3 separate regions of the Homo sapiens genome follow, and all the other regions are linked to region 3. The links are contacts of gene promoters, found by promoter capture Hi-C in blood cells and fetal thymus (Javierre and others, 2016). All regions are on one chromosome and are shown on one strand. Each heading gives the region's core, a stretch centred on a gene start or on the middle of the fragment in contact. The rest is flanking DNA. Distances are from core to core; before and after follow the strand shown.

Region 1 (2,700 bases), core at 90-2,589, 540 kb after region 3:
ATTGAACCTATATCCAGGGAACCCACATGGGATGCTCTACCACCTTCCATGAAGAATAAATATTCATATATATCCAAGAGGACTGTTAATTCTTGGAGGCAGTTAAGTACCACTTCTGGGAATCCTTCTTAGTTTCAAGTATGAATCTATTCAAACATGTTTACTGAACACCTACTATGTGCTAAGTAAGGCACCTAGTGTTGGAGGTGCAGCAATGAACAAGGCAGAGAAGATGCTTACCCTCATTCTAGTTCAGGGAGCTGTCAAACAAGGACACAAATACATAAACACTGTAAGTGACAGATGCTACAAAGAAAATACAAGGCCGGGTGCAGTGGCTCACGCCTGTAATCCCAGCACTTTGGGAGGCCAAGGCTGGCGGATCACTTGAGGCCAGGAGTTGAAGACCAGCCTGACCAACATAGTGAGATCCCGTCTCTACTAAAAATACAAAAATTAGCCGGGCGTGGTGGCGGACGCCTGTAATCCCAGATACTCGGGAGGCTGAGGCAGGAGAATCGCTTGAACCCGGGAGGCGGAGGCTGCAGTGAGCCAAGATCGCGCCACTGCACTCCAGCCGGGGCGACAGAGCAAAACTGTCACAAAAACAAAACAACAAAACAAAACAAAACAGAGTAACATGAGAATAAGTGTGAAGTGTGTCCTTTTCGCCGGCACTGCTTCAGATAGGGTGGTCACAGAAATCCTCTCAGAATAGTAACATTTAAGTTGAGACAGAGCTTGGTCTTCGGTAGGTGCTTAACGAAAACCATTTTCCCACAAACTTAGTTCTGGAAACGACAAAGAGAGGAAAAAGTGTACTCAGTCCGCACAGGGGCCGCTCCCAGGCCTCCAACCTTCGCCGCCAGACTGACTGGAAAGTGGACAGTTCCCGGCCTATCCACGCCGGCACCATTAGAGGGCGCCGCGGGTCCTCCTAGCCCCAGGCACTGGCAAACTGACATCTGCTACCTAACAGTCGAGGCTCCGACGCCCCGAGTCCAGGCAGAGGGCAAGGGCGGCGCTGGGAAGCCCTGAGGCCCTAAGGAATCGCGGAGGGTCACTGGGCGCCTCAAGGACAGGGTGCCCTCCGCGTCGCAAACCCACACCAGTGGCATAAGAACTCGCTCCCTCTGGGACACCCTGTTTCCGGCGCCTTTAAACCTGGAAGTACTGCTGTGTCCAATCCTGGCCCTCCTTCCGCACTTAGTCTTTGAGTCCTTCCCTCTCCTGGCTTGTGCTGGAGCCAAGCAGGCTATGGCTACCAATCAGCGCTCAGAAAAGACGCATGCGTCTTCGAACGAACGCGACGTACGGTTAACTTTGACCCAAAGACAACCTCTTCTCTCCCGCTTCTCTCGCTGTGAAGATGGCGCTCTCCAGGGTGTGCTGGGCTCGGTCGGCTGTGTGGGGCTCGGCAGTCACCCCTGGACATTTTGTCACCCGGAGGCTGCAACTTGGTCGCTCTGGCCTGGCTTGGGGGGCCCCTCGGTGAGGGACCTGTAGCGAGAAAAGCATTTTTGACGTCCAGGCTCTTTCAGTGTCTCAACCTTGCTTGCATTCTGTCTCTTAATTCTCAGAGTTCCACGCCTTGGCCCTGGAATTTTTATTCTTCTGTTCAGGATTCAAACTCCGATCCCCACTAGTGACCCGGCTTCCTGACCCTCTGTACTCTCAGTGCCCCATATTGTCTGGTTTCCCCGCGTGTCCTGAGCTCATCTTTCAGCCTCACTTTTTCGGCTCAGGTTTTACCGCTGCTATCTCGATTCCACCTCTTTCTGACTTAGCCTGCAGTTCAAATTGTCCCACAGGCATTGCGCTCTCTCCAGAGGCATACCCTGAGTTACTTTCCTGCCTGGCCTTTGCCTGATTTGTGTTTCACAGTCTGATTGCCTATCTCTTCTTGACCCCAAGACCTTCCTTGGATTTCAGAAGTGTCAAGCCTTGGGATACAATCTCCGAGACTCCTGCTTTACATTAGGGACTCAAGGCGTGAGGGAGCTTCTAGGACTGATTCCCAGATAGTCTCTTTGATCTTCCTTGTAGGTCTTCAAAGCTTCACCTTTCTCCAAAGGCAGATGTGAAGAACTTGATGTCTTATGTGGTAACCAAGACAAAAGCGATTAATGGGAAATACCATCGTTTCTTGGGTCGTCATTTCCCCCGCTTCTATGTCCTGTACACAATCTTCATGAAAGGTAAAAACGAAACTACAATAGAAATTCCGGAATCAGCTCTTGGGCAGGGTCAAAGAGTTAGCATAAATAAGATCATTTGCAGGTTCTGCTATGGGGATGTGAGCCGAGATATCTTATATTTCATAAATGCCTGCGCCTTAAACTAATTCCTATAAATTAGCACTTCTTGAGAATGTTTCTAGAAAGATGTTATGAGAAACAACTTATGACAGCAACATGAGGGAGGGAGAATATAGGTATGTTCTCGTACTTTCTTAACCACACACCTGGCTATAGTAGAAATTTTTTGCCTTGCACACGGCAGGGATCTGTGGCTGTATAGACCTGCCCTGTGATGTATCAGTTGACTTACCCATAGGAAAATGAGGTCTAACCCTTGTTATGAATCTATATTAGGTAGTATGTTGTAGTGGCAATAGCCCTACATAATACTTGGTTTCTAAATGTTTTGTTTCAAATCAGAGATCCTTAGTTACTAGGAGAAGATATGTATCGTGTCAAG
Region 2 (2,700 bases), core at 146-2,645, 520 kb after region 3:
TGAAAAAATAAACAGCCGAAGGTTTCAGGTTTCATTTACCCAACACAGGTATCACAATAAATGACCTAGTATAATGATAGTTTCCAACCGTATTTAATAAAACAAACACGCAGCAGAAATCCTCTAGTCACATATAACTACACTATACCCTCAGATCAAAGTTAATGATGTCAATGGAAAGTATAGGCCGGCGGGTTCACTGGTGATAAGTCATGAGACTCTGAGCAAAGAATAAGTAATAAGGTTAGAATTCTTTAGAAGTGTTAAGGGGAAAGAAGGTAACAACAACAAAAACTCCTCCACATCAAGAGTTCTAAGTACTTTGTTGTTTATTAACTAATTTCATACCAACAACCCTGTAAGACTGATATTATCAATCCCCATTTTAAGTACGTGGAACAAAAGAAGAAAGAGGCAAACAACATGCTCAAAGATTTACAAAGCCAAGAAATCATGCGAACTGGTGGGGCTTCGGGTTCCAGAAGTCAGTGTAAACATAGCTTCTCCATTTTTCACCAACAGTCACTAAAATTGAGGCCAGCAAGTTTTTAGAAGCCTATCTCCCCTTGCAAACTCTCCTTCCATATAATTTTTGCTTTTGCAAGAGATGTCACATTTAAGCGGTAGCTTTAAAAGTGGGGACACATGAAACGCACAGCTGGGAGAGCCATCCAGCCCACTTACATATGTGCAATATCCCCCTGTAGAAAAACCCTGCTCATTGGAGCCTGGAATCCAGAGGGTCCCTGAGAGCTACACAAACAGCCTTAAAACCAATCTACCCACAATTACTGAGCCGCGTATGCAGGCTATTCACACAGAAGGCGCTCCCTGAAGTCGGTTAGGTTATAATGAGTCTTTTGTTGAAGCGGGGCGGCGGGAGGCCCCGGAGAGCAGCCCGGCCCCCTGCGGCGCCGACGAAGAGGCCACGAAAGACCTTGCCCTGTGCCCGTCGGCCTCTTTCGAGGCGTCGAAGCAGGTCAGCGCACCCCGACACAGGCCGGGCGCGCCATCCGGTGCAGCTGGGAGCTGGGCCATGTGTCCTAGGCCGCGGCGGGGAAGGGGCGAGACCCCCGCGACCTCCGGCGTTCCCTCCCTGCCCCCATCTTTGGGTCTTTCTCTGAATGGCGCGACTCCATCAGTCCTGGACTCTGGGCCTGAGGCCCTCCCTGGCCACACCTCCCCTCACAGCCCCGCACGGCGAGCCGGTGTCGCATCCTAGCCCCGGAGCCTGACCCCCGACACAGGCCCTCGAGCCGCCCCGCGCCCCTCCCTGCCAGCGAGCGGAATGCCGTGACCCCTGACCTTGCCTTCCCCTCACCTTACCAGCTCCGCAACCACCTGACACGCCGCCCCCGCGCCCAGGGCTCCATATTCCGGGAGCCAGCGCCACGCTGGCTAACGCCCTCCCCTCCCCGCGATTGGTCGACAGGACGGCAGCCGCACATCCCTATTGGCTGGAGTCCCTGCAGCGGCCGGGATGCGTGGCCCGCAGACCAGGGACCTAGGCTCCGCCCACGCGGAGTCTGGATGCGGCGGCCCCTGGGGCACGCGGCGGCCCCTGGGGCACCCGGCGGGAGCTGCATGCTGCCTAGTTGCTGCTTGCGTTGGCCAGACCCACACAGCCCCTGGACTGGGGAGCTCCAGTCCGCTAGCAGTCTGGGGACAGATAAGATTCCTGCCCTAGTTCGCCGTGGCGCCACGTTAGGTACTGACAATCAAGCTACGAGGTATAGCTCTATCCTGTAAAGGGTAGCCAGGCCAGGCGCGGAGGCTCACACTTGTAATGCCCAGCACTTTGGGAGACCGAGGCGGGAGGATCACTTGAGTCCAGGAGTTCGATACCAGCCTGGGCAACATAGTGAGACCCGGTCTCTACAAAAAATTTTAAAATTAGCCAAGCAAAGGCCGGGCGCGGTGGCTCACGCCTGTACTCCCAGCACTTTGGAGGGCCCAGGCGGGCGAATCACCTGAGATCGGGAGTTTGAGACCAGCCTGACCAACATGGAGAAACCCCGTCTTTACTAAAAATACAAAATTAGCCGGGCGTGGTGGCGCATGCCTGTAATCCCAGCTACTCGGGAGGCTGAGGCAAGAGAATCGCTTGAACCCGGGAGGCGGAGGTGCAGTGAGCCGAGATCGCGCCATTGCACTCCAGCCTTGGAAACAAGAGCGAAAACTCCGTCTAAAAAAAAAAAAAAATTAGCCAGGCATCACGGCGCCCGCCTGTGGTCCCAGCTACTCGGGGGCTGAGGTGGGAGAATCACTTGGGCCTGGGAGGTGGAGGCTGCGGTGAGACAAGATCGTGCCACTGCACTCCAGCCTGGGTGGCAGAGCAAAACCCTGTCTCAAAAAAAAAGGATAGCCACCTGGAAGGAACATTTCCTCGCGCCCCCAGAGCCACATCATAGTATCTGCTGCCCCACCAAGAGCACCCCACACCTGGGAGGAACCGAGAAACATCAGCTAGTGCAGCCAGTTTGACCGCCTTAGGTGTCCTCCCAAGCCTCCGTAGTGAATTGTTTTCCTCCTCGCCCAGCTGACTCGATTCTCCCCAGACTTCATCCTACCTACCCAAAAGCAATCCCACTCTATCGCCAGTTTCAGCCTCACACCGTATCTTTTGCTCTGAAGATGAGACTGCCAAACTGGTGAAGAGGGAATAAATGGCCTAACAAATTACCGTAATTTTCTGCAATG
Region 3 (2,700 bases), core at 86-2,585:
TTACAGGCATGTGCCACTACTCCCGGCTAATTTTTGTGTTTTTAGTAGAGACGGGGTTTCGCCATGTTGGCCAGGCTGGTCTCGAACTCTTGACCTCAGGTGATCCGCCCACCTTGGCCTCCCAAAGTGCTGGGATCATAGGTGTGAGCCACTGCACCTAGCCTTGGACCCTCTTCATATTAAATTAAAATTAATGTTTTTGGAACACCTATTAGGCCACAGAGTGAGGAGGATGAGTTAAAGTAAGTTCCCTCCTTGTAAGTAGTTAGAAGTATAGAAAGAAAGAAGTGGACCTGCTCTCTATTGTCTTTTTCTTTTCTTTAGACGGAGTGTTTGCTCTCTTGCCCGGGCTGGAGTGCAATGACGCGATCTCAGCTTACTGTAACCTCTGCCTCCTGGGTTCAAGTGATTCTCCTGCCTCAGCCTCTTGAGTAGCTAGGAGTACAGGCATCCGCCACCACGCCCGGCTAATTTTTGTATTTTTATTGGAGACGGGGTTTCACCATGTTGGCCAGGCTGGCCTAGTACTCTTTTTTTTTTTTTTTTGAGTCGGAGTCTCGCGCTCACGCTCAGGCTGGAGTGCAGTGGCGTGATCTTGGCTCACTGCAAGCTCCGCCTCCCGGGTTCACGCCATTCTCCTGCCTCAGCCTCCCGAGTAGCTGGGACTACAGGCGCCCGCCACCACGCCCGGCTAATTTTTTGTACTTTTAGTAGAGACGGGGTTTCACCGTGTCAGCCAGGATGGTCTCGATCTCCTGACTTCGTGATCCACCCGTCTCGGCCTCCCAAAGTGCTGGGATTACAGGCGTGAGCCACCGCGCCCGGTCGGCTAGCCTGGTACTCTTAACCTCAGGTGATCCACCAGCCTCAGCCTCCCAAAGTGCTAGGATTACAGGCGAGAGCCACCGCGCCTGTCTTTTTAAAAGCTAAAACTGAAACGGAAACAGAGCTCCTGGCAGATAGGACCAGGAGCCACAGCGAAGGAGGTGGCCTGTGATTAGGTTTTTATAAATGGGCAGGTATTAATCAGGGAAAATGGAGTAAAGGACACGATAGACATACATTGCTAAGTCTAGTATTGGAAAAAGTAAGGCCTGGGACCCCTAAAAACTTGCTCGAGAGTGAAAGGTAAATGCTATGTGTCCACACTACTGTGGTAAAGCCGACAGTCCATACCATGAGCCCATTTCGCGCAGGGAAATTCGAGTGGTGGGCTTGGGCCCGTCGTTCTGGTAGCTTCCCAGTAGAGGGCGCCGTAAGCATATGCGTCTTCAGCCTGACTGGGCTGGAGAGGCGGTGCGTCCTCCTGGCCGGGGGGCGGGGGCCGTCGCGCTCACGTGACCTTTGCTCATGGCGGCGGCGGCGGCGGCGGCGGTGCTGGTGGTGCTCGGCGGCCGGAGCCGGATCCTGTAGCCGGGTGTGGGCCCGTGTCTGTCCGTCCCTCCTTCGGCCCCCTCTCTTGTCTTCCGGAGTGTGGCTGGCGGAGCTGGGATGGCGGAACGAGGCCTGGAGCCGTCGCCGGCCGCGGTGGCGGCGCTGCCGCCTGAAGTGCGGGCGCAGCTGGCGGAGCTGGAGCTGGAGCTCTCGGAGGGTAGGAGCCGGGCCGGGGAGAGGGCGCCCGGGGCCCTGCGGATCGCGGCGACTTGGGAGACAGGTCCCCGCCGCGCGCTCTGGCGGCCGTGCGGCGAGGGGGACGAGGGTGTAGAGAACCTGGCCTGGCGCTCCACGACCGTTTTCCCTCCTCTCCCACCCCATTAAGTGGTTTCCTGTGGCTTTCATTGTTTTCCCATGGAGGGGACTAAGTAAGGGCTTGTGGAAAGGTCCTCCCGGGCCCACACTGCTTCTGCGCTTCCTGCCCCCCAAAACCCGAGACAAAGCTGCGCCCTCCCGCTTCTGCCCAGGCGTCTGGCCCAGGTGGGGTGAGGGGTAGGGCTGCGAGGAGGGTGGCTGACAGCTTTCTCCTTTCCTCTCCCCTTTTCGTGGAGGGCTCCACGCCTTGTTCCAGCCCCCCCTTCCCCCTTTCAAAAAGAGACACATGGGAAATCCGCAGCATCATTTCTTCTCTTTCCTTTAACAATGCGCGATGCCTCCCCAGTGACAGGAGTGAGACACAAGCGGGTGAGCCATTTAGGGTCCTAGGAAGATAAGAAGCAATGGCATTAACCCAGAGAGACACACGGTGCTGCTTTTAGACCACCTTTGTCATAAGAAGTTTTTTTTTTTCCTGGTGCCTGTTATTCGGGCCGAATTTTCCGCATCTGGTCACCTTTTGGAGTCTTTGATGAAGGAAGGAGAGGAGGCTACCGTTTACTTGCAAATCCTGGCTGGCATTCTTTCTTTTGACAATGGATTGGGACAGGGAGGGTTCGATTTATTTTCAGAATTAAAAAAAAAAAATGGGATAAATCAAGCCACTGTTATTAGAGAACTCCTTGTACAACAATGAGAGAAACACAGTGCTCCGTTGTGGGCATGTGATCAGGCTTCTGGGGCAGTTGTGATCAGTTCTGTGTAAAGTTCCTGTTTTTATCACTGGCTGCCCCTGAGACAAAAGCAGCATTTTCTCCAAGCTTGATACCAGTACTTTGATTGTGTCTCCAGAGTTGCATATTCTTACTGAGTTCCTTGTGGAAGGCCCTCTTCACTAGCATTTTTCAAGTGGATCAAAAACTCTTGATTGGAAAAGAAGAATGTGACCAA

What was found. Contacts are between HindIII fragments. The CHiCAGO score rates a contact against its expected background, and 5 or more counts as called.
Region 1: a contact is called between the fragment with the promoter of LETMD1 here and the fragment with the promoter of DIP2B in region 3, in 1 of 17 cell types (endothelial precursors). The highest score is 5.1, in endothelial precursors.
Region 2: a contact is called between the fragment with the promoter of SLC11A2 here and the fragment with the promoter of DIP2B in region 3, in 2 of 17 cell types (fetal thymus and megakaryocytes). The highest score is 9.5, in fetal thymus.

The regions. Positions count from the first base shown.
Region 1 is chr12:51,046,988-51,049,687 of GRCh38, forward strand. It overlaps LETMD1 (LETM1 domain containing 1), which reads left to right and starts at 1,340. Exons shown (of 9, transcript NM_015416.5): 1 at 1,340-1,491; 2 at 2,047-2,198. The coding sequence starts at 1,370. RefSeq lists enhancers at 615-734, 785-864, 955-1,224, 1,046-1,584, 1,335-1,384 and 1 more. The HindIII fragment of the contact is 4,204 bases long and covers 1-2,054 here.
Region 2 is chr12:51,024,989-51,027,688 of GRCh38, forward strand. SLC11A2 (solute carrier family 11 member 2) reads right to left here and starts at 1,396. Exons shown (of 16, transcript NM_000617.3): 1 at 1,322-1,396. RefSeq lists enhancers at 356-969, 970-1,581 and silencers at 987-1,046, 1,057-1,776. The HindIII fragment of the contact is 11,669 bases long and covers 1-2,700 here.
Region 3 is chr12:50,503,650-50,506,349 of GRCh38, forward strand. DIP2B (disco interacting protein 2 homolog B) reads left to right here and starts at 1,336. Exons shown (of 38, transcript NM_173602.3): 1 at 1,336-1,591. The coding sequence starts at 1,492. RefSeq lists a silencer at 1,639-1,748. The HindIII fragment of the contact is 3,121 bases long and covers 1-2,568 here.